5 separate regions of the Homo sapiens genome follow, and regions 1, 2, 4 and 5 are each linked to region 3. Evidence: promoter capture Hi-C in 16 types of primary human blood cells and fetal thymus (Javierre and others, 2016). All regions are on one chromosome and are shown on one strand. Each heading gives the region's core, a stretch centred on a gene start or on the middle of the fragment in contact. The rest is flanking DNA. Distances are from core to core; before and after follow the strand shown. Region 1 overlaps DOCK3 (dedicator of cytokinesis 3). Region 2 overlaps DOCK3 (dedicator of cytokinesis 3). Region 3 holds the start of CISH (cytokine inducible SH2 containing protein). Region 4 overlaps DOCK3 (dedicator of cytokinesis 3). Region 5 overlaps DOCK3 (dedicator of cytokinesis 3).

The links. Contacts are between HindIII fragments. The CHiCAGO score rates a contact against its expected background, and 5 or more counts as called.
Region 1: a contact is called between a fragment that was not itself captured here and the fragment with the promoter of CISH in region 3, in 1 of 17 cell types (neutrophils). The highest score is 6.7, in neutrophils.
Region 2: a contact is called between a fragment that was not itself captured here and the fragment with the promoter of CISH in region 3, in 10 of 17 cell types (activated CD4 T cells, total CD8 T cells, total CD4 T cells and 7 more). The highest score is 11.9, in activated CD4 T cells.
Region 4: a contact is called between a fragment that was not itself captured here and the fragment with the promoter of CISH in region 3, in 2 of 17 cell types (naive CD4 T cells and naive CD8 T cells). The highest score is 6.0, in naive CD4 T cells.
Region 5: a fragment that was not itself captured here is called in contact with the fragment with the promoter of CISH in region 3 in 1 of 17 cell types (neutrophils); the score reaches 5.2 in neutrophils.

The regions. Positions count from the first base shown.
Region 1 is chr3:51,241,184-51,243,883 of GRCh38, reverse strand. The region is part of intron 21 of DOCK3 (dedicator of cytokinesis 3); the gene reads right to left. Among named protein-coding and RNA genes, the nearest start is that of MANF, 140 kb to the left of the region's middle. The HindIII fragment of the contact is 2,606 bases long and covers 95-2,700 here.
Region 2 is chr3:51,312,684-51,315,383 of GRCh38, reverse strand. DOCK3 (dedicator of cytokinesis 3) reads right to left here. Exons shown (of 53, transcript NM_004947.5): 31 at 2,482-2,540; 32 at 256-404. Among named protein-coding and RNA genes, the nearest start is that of MANF, 71 kb to the left of the region's middle. The HindIII fragment of the contact is 1,617 bases long and covers 505-2,121 here.
Region 3 is chr3:50,610,444-50,613,143 of GRCh38, reverse strand. It overlaps CISH (cytokine inducible SH2 containing protein), which reads left to right and starts at 1,370. Exons shown (of 3, transcript NM_145071.4): 1 at 1,370-1,513. The coding sequence starts at 1,494. It also overlaps a transcript of MAPKAPK3 not described here. RefSeq lists enhancers at 852-941, 1,851-2,411 and a silencer at 1,022-1,501. The HindIII fragment of the contact is 4,554 bases long and covers 1-2,700 here.
Region 4 is chr3:51,279,040-51,281,739 of GRCh38, reverse strand. It overlaps DOCK3 (dedicator of cytokinesis 3), which reads right to left. Exons shown (of 53, transcript NM_004947.5): 27 at 1,536-1,634. Among named protein-coding and RNA genes, the nearest start is that of MANF, 100 kb to the left of the region's middle. The HindIII fragment of the contact is 968 bases long and covers 813-1,780 here.
Region 5 is chr3:51,258,573-51,261,272 of GRCh38, reverse strand. DOCK3 (dedicator of cytokinesis 3) reads right to left here. Exons shown (of 53, transcript NM_004947.5): 23 at 947-1,117. Among named protein-coding and RNA genes, the nearest start is that of MANF, 130 kb to the left of the region's middle. The HindIII fragment of the contact is 820 bases long and covers 929-1,748 here.

The sequences.
Region 1 (2,700 bases), core at 148-2,647, 630 kb before region 3:
ATACAATATACAAAAATTAACTCAAAGTGGATCAAAGACCTAAATCTAAGGGCTAGAATTATAAAACACTTAAAAGAAAAGATAGGTGAAAGCTTCATATTAGGCAATGATTTCTTGAAAATGACACCAAAAGCACAGGCAACAACAAAAAATAAGGTGGACTACATCAAAACTTTAAAAACTTCTGTGTCTCAAAGGACACAATCAACAGAGTGAAAAGGCAACCAAGTGACTGGGAAAAATATTTATAAATCATATAACTGATAAGGGGTTAATATCCAGAATATATAAAGAACTCCTATAACTCAACAATAAAACAAATAACCTCTTTTTAAAAAATGGGTGAAGGACTTGAATACACATTTCTCAAAGGAAGATAATTAGGGAAACACAAATAAAAAACATAAAGAAATATCACTTTACACCCATTAGGGTGGCCACTATAAAAAAAAAAACCCAGAAAATAGCCTGGCCCTCGATGGCTCTGGAGGAAAGGTGAGTGAACTATTAAGAAGCAACTTGCTCTTACTAATGGCCTCTGGAACCCTGGCAGAAGGAGAGCCCTCAACCACCACAGATACTTGAGTTGGCAGGGAGAGCTGCTTAGAGAAGTGGTAGGGGTAGCAAACCAGATGATGTGGAGCCCAGGGGGTTTGGTATGGGAGTGTCTGTAGTGGTGCACAGCCAGGGATGGCCATCCCCCTAGGCTTGACTTGCTCCCGTGGGAGACTTCAGTCCTAGGGGAACTGTTGGTCCTGAACTCTGCAGGGCGGTCTTGCCCATCAGATGGGGCTGGTCTATCCTGAGCACCCCTTGGTTGGCTGGCCTCTCCTAGGGCCCAAGTCTGGCCATACCTGCTTGCAGGGCAGCCTCAGGTGACCTGGGGGCCCCATGTCATAGCTTCTACACAGACCATGCTTGATGGGGGAGAGCTCCACTGGTGCGACCCTATGCCACGCACTAGCCTGCATGCCCCCTCCCCATACTGCAGCTTCCCCAGGACCCACTGCAACTCTCCACAATGCTTTACTGGCTTGTGTCTGTACTGGCAGGTTTTGCTTTCCTTTTTCCATTAAAAAGTGGGCTAGCATGTAAGAGTGCAGCCTGTCCCCTGCTCCCACCACCATTGCAGATGGAGCCTTGGTGGGCACAGAGCCAGCCAGCCCCGTCCTTGTCAGTGCCCCACCCTTGCTCTAACACTGTGCAGAGAATAGCAGATCCTCCCCTATCCTGAGTGACTACTTCTGCTTGCAGGACACAGAGGAGGCACCCAGACCTTCAGTGTCCCAACCCTGAGCCATCACCATCTCTACCGTGACTGCACAAAAGTTGCCAGTAGGGGCCCCAGCTCTGCCCAGCCATGTTGCCTCTGCCACCTTGGTCAATGCCTGCAGGGAGGCAGGTACCCTGACACTGGCATCTGCTAGCACTCTGCCACAGGTGACTCTGCCACAGCTGCTGTACCCACTGCTGCTGGCACATGTGAACAGGGATAGATCCAGCTGTCACTGCACTATGAACCACTTTGGCTTATACCACCCAGCCAAAGTGGAATGGCCAGCAGTCTGGGAGCATCTCGGCCTACCCAGTACAGTGGATTCCTAACCTTAAGGAGCCAGAGAACAAAGCTGGGGCCCAATACCAGTCCCCAAGTTGTGTTAGAGTGCACAGTCCAGGAGTTGAGAGCTGAGCACTGTCCCCTAAAATGTTCCAGAAATGAATCCAGCTGGCTGAATCCACTTTATACCATAATCAAACATTCAAGGTCATCAAACAGGATAAAAGGGAAAAAAAAAACCATCCAAAGGACAGCAACCTCGAAGACTGAAGAGTGACAAGCCCACAAAGATGAAAAAGAACCAGCACAAGGACCCTGGCAACTCAAAAAGCCTTCTTTCCTCCAAATGACTGCATCACCTCTCCAGCAAGGGTTCTGAACTGGGCTGAGAGGGCTGAAATGACAGAAATAGAATTCAGAATATGGATAGGAATGATGATCATTGAGCTACAGGAGTACACTGAAAGCTAATCCAAGGAAGCTAAAAATCATGATAAAACAATGCAGGAGCTGACAGACAAAATAGTTAGTATAGAAAAGAATGTAACTGACCTGACAGAGCTGAAAAACACTCTACAGGAATTTCAGAATGCAATTGCAAGTATTAACAGCAGAATAGACCAAGTTCGGGAAAGAATCTCAGAGCTTGAAGACTGGCCTTCTGAAATATGACAGTCAGACAAGAACAGAGAAAAAAGAATGAAAATGAATGAACAAAACCTCCGAGGAATATGGGATTATGTAAAGAGACCAAATCTACAACTCACTGGTGTCCTTAAAATAGACGGGGAGAATGGAACCAACTTAGAAAACATATTTCAGGATATCATCCATGAAGACTTCCCCAACCTAGCTAGAAAGGGCAACATTCAAATTCAGGAAATGCGGAGAACCCCAGTAAAATACTTCACAAGAAGATCATCTCCAAGACACATATTCATCAGATTCTCCAAGGTCAAAATGAAAGAAAAAATGTTAAAGGCATTTAGAGAGAAGGATCAGGTCACCTACAAAGGGAAGCTCATGAGACTAAAAGTGGATCTCTCAGTAGAAACAAGCAAGAAGAGACTGGGGGCCAATATTCAACATTCTTAAAGAAAAGAAATTCCAATAAATAATTTCATATCCAGCCAAACTAAGCT
Region 2 (2,700 bases), core at 64-2,563, 700 kb before region 3:
TCAATCATTCCTTGATCAGAAAGTTATAGTGATGTTCATTCTTTCCTGGCCTCATTATTTTCTGGCCTCTAACTTCATGGAGAAAATCCACAAATCAATTTTGGCCAGCAAGTAAGGGAAAACCCTTGAACAGGATTCAAATTAGCCAAACTACAGCCCATCCCCACTAGAATCATGGCTTGGTCATCTAGGCCACCTGCCTAAGCAGAAGGGATCCATTCCAGAGAATACCCCGAACACTGCCAGGTGTCTTACCTGTTTGAAGTTGCCATTTTTTCTCTGCTCCCAGTCCATCATGTCATGAAAGATGGGAATCATGATATTCCGTACTTCTGGCTGTGGGACCAGTGTCACACCCAGAAAAGGACCAATCATTCCCGGAATAAAGTGGATCTTATGTTCACCTGAAAAACAAAACCCAAATTAGTTTATGCCTGCTTTGCTCCTTCCATGGAAGATTCCCAAATGGGGCCACAACACATGCTACAATCCATACTGGAAGCTTCTGAGAGCAAAACAAGCTCTCCCCTATGGTTTTCTGAGGTACTCTCCCTCAACTTTTTAGAGTTTATGGATAAAGTTGGCCTAGCCCAGTGAAAGCAAATGCGCAACTGTCACAAAACTGCTTTTCCAAAGAATTTCCTGACAGTCCCACAAACTACCTGAAAATCTCTCTGAGATGAAGGAACAGAGTTTGCTACTCTAGACAGAATAGGTTTCTGAGTAACCTATGAGTGTCAGATGGTCTATTCACAGTGTTTATTTAACAAGAAAAACCCAATATTTCTGCTTAAATACAATGCACTCTCCTTGGAGTTTCTAGCTCTAGCCCAGAGACATTTAAGTGATGAGGATATCCAGTCCCTGGTCTAGCCACCAGACGTCTAATAAGTCCATGGATTTTTACACTGCCTATGTTCATGTATGCCAAAGAAGTCCTCCTCCTGAGCTAGCAGGAGTCTCCTGCACAGCCCTACCCTAAAAGGCTGGCTTAGAGATTCTCTCTTTACCCACCCTGAACTCCCTTTGTGTTCATATTGCATTTCTGATGGTGCCATTACACCTACTTGGCTCAGCTCAACCCTCAACTTCCTTAATGAAGCATTTCCATGGTAAGTGTGTGATGTGGGTTTCCCTCTCATTGGCGTGCCATCTAGGGTATGTTACCAGAAGCCAGAGACAGTCCTGTGGATGGTGGGATAGGATTTTTCTCTTCCTTGCAATGGTAAAACAGAGTGAACCATCTTTCAGAGCTCTGCTCTCAGTCCTTCAGAGACTATTGAGGAGATAAACTGTGGGTCTGTGCAATGAATGCTACGGCCAAGTAAAACCATTTCTTGGGGACCAGAGAATGTCATTTCCACCAAAAGAAATGAGGCAGAAAAGGCTTTATCAGGCAAATCTGGTATTAAAAAAAATTCTAAGAAGCAAATGTTTAGCCCTGAGGCTGGTTCAGCATATTCCAATTTTGGTACTTGGCACAGTAGCCAGTCTCTTGCATTCCTGGGAATTTCAGAGTCAACTTTGGGTTAAAATCCATTTCCAAACTGTGCTGGATACAGGGAACCAGAGTGTTGGAAAGTCTGATTGGGGAAATGCATCCCCACTCATGAATAGAAGGCCCTCTCGCCGGCAGAAATACTTCATATCCTACTTGCTGCCTCTAGGTTAGTGGTGGGGATGGTTAACAGAGGACTGGAGATTTTATGACCATCATTCCTACAGCTTCAGAACCATGAGCTCAGCTGAAAGCAGACTTCACTTGAAATAATAATAGTTCTCCAGCATCTTGACAGGCCACTCAGAACTCTACAATATCACAGGATGGCCCACTCAGTCACCAGGGCAACCCAGAAATTCTACCAAAAACACTGATCTGACAAATTTAGATTCAAAGCAGTGGCTATTTTCAAAGCATTCAAAGCAGAAGCTGTGCAAAGAAGGGAAGCCAAAACTGATCTCACCCAGAGGTTGCAGTTCTCTTCTTATATGTTACTCCATGCAACTGGTGTCAAGTATCTGATCTGGATGCATGAATACCAGAGATCCAATAAATGTTTCAATCTTTATTAAAATTAATAGCCACCTTTGCTCATGTACTGGGTATCTCAGATCTAAGCTTTTGAGCCTGCAACATCCAGACTGGGAAGTGAAGAGCATGGAGGATCTTATAGGAATGGGTTCTCAAATTGGAAAAAACTACTACAGCCCTCCTTTTCTTTTTTTTCTTTTGACTTTAGTTCCTAAAAAAAGGGATTTGGCATATGTATTACTGAGGTCTTATTTCTCAGACAAACTCTCCTTGCCAAGGGCTTTATGCACATGTGCTACACCATCCATCTGAGGTGTTATGTGAAAGATATGTAAGGATCTCTTGGGCCTGAATTAACATTCATAAAGCCTGGGAGATGTTATTAGTCTTGCTACTTTCTATTTGGCTATGCAATATATAGAAGGGAAGAATAGGGAGAAAAAACCTACCCAAATTCTGCCACATGCTGAACAGTTCATAGGCCATCATTACACGCATGTCCCCATACCTAAGAATAGTAACACAGGAGCCAACCGTTAGTGGGAGAAGGTTCAGGAGGATAGGGCTGCAAACCCATGAGGCCAGGACTTCAGCACTGTTTGTTTCTAATGCTTCCCAATGCGCTAAGCCTTTGGGCTCTCGACTGAACTCCCACACTTGGGCCCCTG
Region 3 (2,700 bases), core at 121-2,620:
TGGGAGGGGGATGGGGGTGGGGAGTGGACCCTGCAACCTCTCCAAATCCCACAGTTCTTCTGGCCCAAGGGTTTGGAGGAGATTCACAGACCCTACAGTCCTTCAAGATGCTCCATAGTGAATCCAGTGAACTGAAAAAAGGTGGAGAGGGTCCTGGTAGGAGCGTGGGCTTCTGATTCAGAGCTGGGACCAAGCTCTTACCCTGCCATTTCCTAGCATTTGTTCCCTGGGGCTGTCTTCTGTCCGCATAACGGGAGCAACACCAGTTGTAGAGGATCAAATGCAGCAAGTACTCCCTGTAGATAAGAGCGAGTGTTACTACTCTGCCCCCGCCATCCCGCCCCAACCTCTATCACCCTACTCCCAGATTATCTCCCTATGTTTTGAGTTGCAGGACTCTCTCTCAGCATTTTTTTTCTGGCGGGGGGTGGGGGTGGTACCAACCCAGAGTCCGGGCCATCTGGGGCTGTCTCTGCTTGCTTTCTCAAATCTGTAGTCTCTTCTCCCCTGACTGGCAGGGCCGGCCAGAAACCAGTGCCAGCCAAGACTGGATGGTCTGCCTGATTCGAAAAGTTGGGGCGTGCTTTCTCCTTCAACTCTTTCAAAGAAAACGTTCTTGTCTGGATCTTTCTGGCTGTGGTGACCGCCGGCTTGACCTCAGTGGACCCACTCATTTCTGGAACTGTCCTCTGCACCCCGCCCTGCCCTAAGTCCCGCTCCAGATCTCACCCCATGCCACCCAATCCGACACCCGACACACAGAGTCCTAGGGTCCAGGAGCGGCCGTCCCAACACGGGGCGCTTGCACACGCCGACAGACCTCCTTGGAGGAGCCGCTCGCAGGGAGGACAAGCCCGGGACTCCGCCCCCCGCCCTGCCACGAGTTCCACCGCGAGATAAGAGGGCCCTTCCCCAACGACGCAGAATGCCAGAAGGCAATCTGGGCGCGGGTTGCTGAGCCCGGGCCCCTCCTTAACTTCCCCGACCCGGTCTTTCCCCACTGATCTCTCCGACCTGCCCCTCTGGGTAGCTTCAGCCCCGGGTCCACGCGCTGCTATTGGCCCTCCCCGACCGCTCGGCTCCACCTTCAGCGTCGCGATTGGTCAGCTCGCGGGGCCCCGCCCCGTTTTCCTGGAAAGTTCTTGGAAATCTGTCAAAGTATTTCCTTTCACTGCTCAGGGCCCCAGACCCGGCGACGGGGCCCGCGCACCCCGCCCGGGCCCCACCGCTCAGCCCGCGGTTCTAGGAAGACGCTGCTTCCGGGAAGGGCTGGAACGCGGCAGACAAAGGATTAGGCAGCAGCTCGCCCCGCCCCGCTCGTCTGGCCCGCCCCCCTCGCCCTCGCAGGCGGTCCGCGCCACTGCCTCTCAGTCCCTGTCCTGCGCCCGCGCGCCCCGGGAGCCTACCCAGCACGCGCTCCGCGCCCACTGGTTCCCTCCAGCCGCCGCCGTCCAGCCGAGTCCCCACTCCGGAGTCGCCGCTGCCGCGGGGACATGGTCCTCTGCGTTCAGGGGTAAGCGCGGCTCTCTGCCCCCTTCCCGGCCACCACGAGGGGCGCACGGGAGAACAGGGGCTTCGTGCTAGCTGCCGGGCATTGGGAGGGCTTGACGGGCCAGAGGTGACTGAGCGCAGACGGACCTCAGGAGCAAGGCTCTGTGTGGGGCTGTGACACTCCCACTCCCCGCCCCCACACACTTACCTCAATTCCCACTGTGGATTGGGAAACCGGGGGCTGGCCGGCTAAAGGAGGAACTCACAGGGTGGGCTCAGCCTGGGTTCTCATTGGAGCAGATGGATGCTAACGGCACGGCGTCCCCCAAGATGTGGCCAACAATCCCAGATATTCTTCTGGGCCCAGAGCACTCTACGCTAGCCTGCCTGCTGCCCTGCCTGCTAGTAACCTTGGACCAGCCCCTGGCCCCCTCTGTCCTGGTGTCCCCTCTCCTGCCCCAGGCTAGCAAGTAGGCTCTTCTTGGGAAGCCAGCCGCAGATCCTTGCCTTTCCTCAGGCTGGCACCTGATGGTCTGCAACTCTCGGGAGGCCCTGGGTTTGGCCTGGTCCTGCTTGGGGTACCCCCACAATCGTCTCACAACCCTGTCTCAGCCCAGTCTGGGATCCCAATGTGAGAAGGACCTTGGCTCCTGCCTCTCATCTTCAAATTTCCCAGACTTGAGGTAAGGGACAGTGGAGAGGGGATGCTGATAAGACAGAGTCTTGACCTGAGCTGAGCATTCCTGGCCATCCACTCTGTCCTGAACCTCAGCAACCCCTTCAACCAAAGGGTCTGATGCTGGCCATGGTGATGTGACAGGAGCTCAGGAAGCTCCAAGGAGAGAGGAAGAAGGTATAAATGGGTGTTCTGCACTCAGGGAGGACTGGGTGGCTGTGCTTATCGCAACTGGCCTGGTGCCAAGTGAGGGAGGGTGGAAGGTGAGGCCAAGGAAGAGGACATGGAGGTGCTGGGAAGACTACTTCTCCCTTGCTGTCTCCAGCAAGTTCCTTCCTCCTGTCTGCATTCTGGGACTCCTGAATACCTGCCCCACCACTGCCTTCCACCCCAGGAGCCTCCCCCTGCATTCCGGGGTCCCATAGCCTCTTTCACTTTTTACCCTAGGTGAGCACCCCCTTGTAAGCTCAGGGCTACTGTTGGGTGTCAGGGAACAAAGTTTTAGACTGCTGCGCTCCAAAGCGGGCACACAC
Region 4 (2,700 bases), core at 47-2,546, 670 kb before region 3:
TACATAGAGTTTGTAATCAGCACTGAAGGACTTCACTTTTAGATACACACTATCATCCAGGAGTCTCTATAGGAAAGTCTGTAGGAGGAGAGTCTCCAACACAAAAGATAGTGACTGAAACAAATAAAAGCAGTGGGGGAGCAAATCTCTAGGAAAAAAAAGTGACCTGACATCTGATAGATTTGACCATAAGGCAAGCTGGAAGAAGAGATATATTAGAAAGATGATAGCAAGAGTGGGAAATCCTCACCAGATTTGATGACCAAAACAAAACAAAGCATAAGCAAATAAAAAAAGAGGCAATTAATTTTTATAAAAACAATAAGTTCGACAACAAGCTTGTCTAACCCACGGCCCATGGGCCATATGCAGCCCAGGATGGCTTTGAATGCAGCCCAACACAGATTTGTAAACTTCCTTAAAATATTATGAGATATATATATATATATATATATATATATATATTTTAGCTCATCAGCTATCGTTAGTGTTAGTGTATTTAATGTGTGGCCCAAGACAATTCTTCTTCCAATGTGGCCTAGGGAAGCCGAAAGACTGGACATCACTGTTCTACAAGAAAAGAAATATAATCCCAGGACAGTCTTGGCTCACCACAGTACTTATTTAGCTGTAATAAAGAAAAGATAAACAATATAATCAATGCAAACAAAAATATATGAAAACTACATTGGGAAAATGGGAGGAAGGATGTGTGTGTGAGAGAGGAATGATTCTGGAGAATCATCTTCATTTTCCATAGAAAGAGGAAAATAGATAATAACTAACAATAGCTAAAAATAGTAGTAGAAGCTTCCTGAAGAATAGCAAAAGAATTGAAAGTGGCTGCCTTTGTGGAGTAGGGACTGGACACGAGTCAGGCTGAGCCAGGAAACCACTGTATTTTTTAAAAAAATTATTTCTGGGCTCAATCGATCCTCTCACTTTAGCCTCAAGAGTAGCTAGGACTACAGGTGTTTTATATTATGAACTTTGTAGTATGCTTTGGCTTTTTAAATTATGTATAGCAATCTGTGATAAAAATAAGACCCTCAGTGCTCCAGACCCAGAGTTTGGCAGCAAATGAGCAGTGCACACCCTTGCTCTCTAAAGGTATCTTCCACAAATATATTTAAATGAAAAAAATTGACACCATTATTATTATTAAAGGTATTAAAACAGCAAATCCTAATTTGCAGGTACAAAATATAAGGGTAACTGCCAAGTTACTAAGAAAGGAAGGAGTCCTGGTTGTCTGACAACCAGTGTGGGACAGAGTAGCCTCTAATAGAGGCACATGATCACAGGGCCGCTAATAGTCAAGGAAAACTTGGCAGTGTTACGAGGGTCCAGCTGTGTGGGGACACTGCTGGCTTTCAGCTTCTGGAGGCCAACACTCAGCTGTAAAGCAGGGCTGGTGAATCCTACACCCGTGGCAATGCTAGTCACTTGCATTCATCCCCCTGACAGGGAAAAAGCCCCTGGGGAGTGCTGGCTGCACACTTCCTCTCCCAGAGGAAAGGTGTTCTACTGCCTACCTTGAGTTCATCTTTGCTCTGGAAGTTGTCCAGGAGGTGCTGGAAATGGGTGTCACACATCTGGCGGAGCAGTGAGAGAAGGCAGGACACATACTCGCCCTAGGGACCAACCCAAAAAAACACTTAGCATGGCCAATTGCAAGGGCTGTGTTCCCCCAATCCATAGAGGGCAAGGAGAGAAGGGAGGGTCTGAGATGGCCCCAATGATCATGGAAGAAAGATGACAAATCTAGCCCTCTAAAGCTTTATTTTCTGCTAAGGAAAGCCTGGAGGGATTAGGGGGAAATAAACCCTCTGCAGCATGGGGCTACTGAAAAACCTTAAACTATAATAAAGTAGTACTGCAAAGTGAGACAAATATTCTCCCTTTTTTTCCTAGGAAAGTTTTGGCTAAATAGTCCTTTGCTGCCAGGGCACTGTACTGAAGTCTATAGAGGATACTTGGAAAAGGGGAGAGCTTAACCCTCTCTGGACAGAATTTGGACTCTGCCGATCCTGCTGGACTAGAGCAGCCCTTCTACAAGGACTTCTTTGGAACCTCCTAGAATTTGCACAGGGTTACTGGACTGGGCAAACAAAACACAGCGCAGATCAATATGCCTGTCTGAAAGGCAGAGGAGTTAAAACTGACCTTTTTGAGGGGACAAGCTATGGGCTTTAAGACAAGTAGAAATTAAAGGAGAAATATCAATGTTCAAAATGTCTTCAAGTTCCAATTGGAATACATGGAATAAAATCCTGCTTTAAGGACTTCAAAAACCATCTTACAGCAACTTTTGGCAGGAGGCAGTCAAGCATGGCCTCCTCTTAGTTGCCTCCTTAAAAGGGAGGGAGAACATTTACTTCACTTGGGCAATTTTCAAATGTTTATAAACTCATGAGAAAGTGACAACAGGTTTTAGTCTCTCAAACCCTTTCTAGGTCTCTGAAATTATTATTATTGTTGTTTTTTGGGATGGAGTTTTGCTCTTATCACCCAGTCTGGAGCGCAATGGCATGATCTTGGCTCACTGCAACCTCCACCTCCTAGGTATAAGCGATTCTCCTGCCTCAGCCTCCCGAATAGCTGGGATTACAGGCGCCCACCACCATGCCCGGCTAATTTTTTTTTTGTATTTTTAGTAGACAGGGTTTCGCCATGCTGGCCAGGCTAGTCTCGAACTCC
Region 5 (2,700 bases), core at 89-2,588, 650 kb before region 3:
TCTGCTTGCCCTCCATGGGTGCACCCACTGTCTAGCCAGTCCCAATGAGATGAGCCGGGTACCTCAGTTGGAAATGCAGAAATCACCTGCCTTTTGTGTTGATCTCGCTGGGAGCTGCAGTCCGGAGCTGTTCCTATTTGGCCATCTTGCCAGCCCTCTGATCCTAATTTAATCTTAATTCTTAGCCAAAGATTCCTAGTTACTCCTACTGTTTTTCAAATTATTTCATTCAACTTCTGGAATGGATAAAAGCTAATCTAAATTTTCTTTTTTTTTCTTTTTCTTTTTGGAGACAGAGTCTCAGTCTGTTGCCCAGGCTGGAGTGCAGTGGTGCGATCTTGGCTCACTGCAACCTCTGCCTCCCGGGTTCAAGCAATTCTCCTGCCTCAGCCTCCTGAGTAGCTGGGACTACAGGTGCATGCTAGCACACCCAGCTAATTTTTTTGTATTTTTAGTAGAGATGGGGTTTCATCATGTTGCCCAGGCTGGTCTTGAACTCCTGAGCTCAAGCAATCCGCCCACCTTGGCCTCCCAAAGTGCTAGGATTACAGGTGTGAGCCACTGTGCTCAATTTTCATTAATACAATGATTAATCTGGAAATAAAATTCCCCATACATTCTCAATATCTCCTATGAATAAGGTGTTCATAAAAAACTAAGTAGTATGGTAGCTAAATAAACTTGGTCTAAAGACTGTTCACAGAACAAATTTGTGCTTCTTCTCCAACATAAAGCCACTGAGCTGTTTTACATCTGGCAGCTGAGGCACAGCCAGATTTGCAGTAAAAGCAGCATTTTGTTGTATCAGGTATTTCCTTGTAAATAATCCCTTACCCAACACACATGATCCTGGCAGGGCTTCTTCATCTCTGAAAACCAGAGGACAAAGAAACCACCCACTGAGAAAGAGGAACCCAGCATCAAAGCTTCCCTGCAGTGTGCGAACCTGAGTAAAAAGGAGTGTTTCTGAGTTTCGGCTGTCCAGACTGAGCACAAACCGGATGGACTGGAAAAGTTCTTGGATACTGGATCTGAATTGTTCCTCTTCCATTCCACAAGTGGCTCGTGAGTACAGGATCCGTGACTGTACAATGAACTTGAAAAGGTACTCCAAGGCCTGAAAAGTGTGGGAGAAAAAGTGATGGAGAGATGTTGAAGATGCTCAGGAACTCACATAGCAGGAAACAAGGGGCAAAGTAACAGCAGTTTCTATACCAAAATCAGGTGTTGGGCAATTCTAACTATGGAGATAGATAGGTACTTTATTTTTAAAAATTTTTTCTCAAATATCCAAATTGTCACTAAGCAGCAGCTACCTTCTTACTGAAAGAATCATCAAATAATTTCACAACTGTTTTCTGAGGTTCTGGAATTAAGGAGCCATAGACTGTTATAGAAATAGTTGAATTCAAGACCACTCAGAGTTTAAAAAATAAGTTTCTCTGTATTTTTTTTCAGGTCTGGAAATAAAAGGGTCACAAGGCAAGGATGTAAGAAAGACTCAAGTTTACTGCAAGAAGGAAGTGTCCTAAAGGACTGAGGAATCCTCAGACTTAGGAGTCTCCTACATCTTTAAGATATAGCTGGGGCCTGACACAGTTCCTCCTTTTTCACCAGGGGTCACAGAAATCTGAAGAAAACCTGTCCCAGGCTGCACAGCAGCTGATAGGCCTGATACATCCAGTATCCACCCTCTTCCCACCAAGACATCTGCTATAAGCAGTTCATAAATGGTACAAGATGAAGCTTCTGCAAAAATGTTTGGGAGCAGAATCTGATTCTGAGGAGTTCCTGACGCTTGGCCCATGCTTACAGAGTAATTTTCTTTTAAGAGAACAAATTCAAGACCCAATACTATGTTTTCTAATAAAAAAAAAATGCCACAGATTTCCCAGACACTGAAAAGCCAGAAATAATGGAGAGAAACTTATGCAAGGCTGAAACAAACAGAAGTCAGGTACTTGAAATATAAAACAGGAAACAATTCCCAAACTACCTTTCATGATCTATCCAGCTGTTAGATGGTTTGGAAAAGCAGAACTTAATATTTTGTGGCCCATACAAAATTCAGTTGGCACTGGGGAATGCCAGTTTAGAAAAATGTGTCTTACAGGGCTTGTACCAGATGATTCTGTAGAAGGATTTAGTGTGCGGCCTCATCTCCATAAATGCTACACCCTCTGTTCTAGTAGCTTTTTAATGCCTAGTCTATAAAGAACTTGAAATATCTGTTAGTTTCTAAACCCAGACACTTGCAGGCTGGACTCTGCCACTGCTCTAGTATGTCTATATTGTGGTGACTCTTCAGGCCCATGAAGCAGAAAGTATACACTTCTGAGCTAGCTTCATTTATTAGCTTATGCCAGTTTGAAGTCACTGAAGTAGGAGGTATTTTCTATCGGAACAAAGAAAATAAATGTTTGCATTTTCCAAACTAAATGGCTAGGTAGCAGGTCTGACCTTCCCCTTTAGGTATTTTGGTTTTGTATGATTAAGATGATGGCTTGCTGGGCTCAGCAGAGGACAAAAGAGGGACAAGGTCAGAACTGACACCCTGGAATCCTTATAGGTAGGGACTAGAATCCCTATAGGTAAAGGATAGAACAGAACTTCTTGGAGCAGCCTAAAAAGCCAGGATGTACTCGGGAGGCTGAGGCACGAGAATGGCGTGAACCCAGGAGGTGGAGCTTGCAGTGAGCC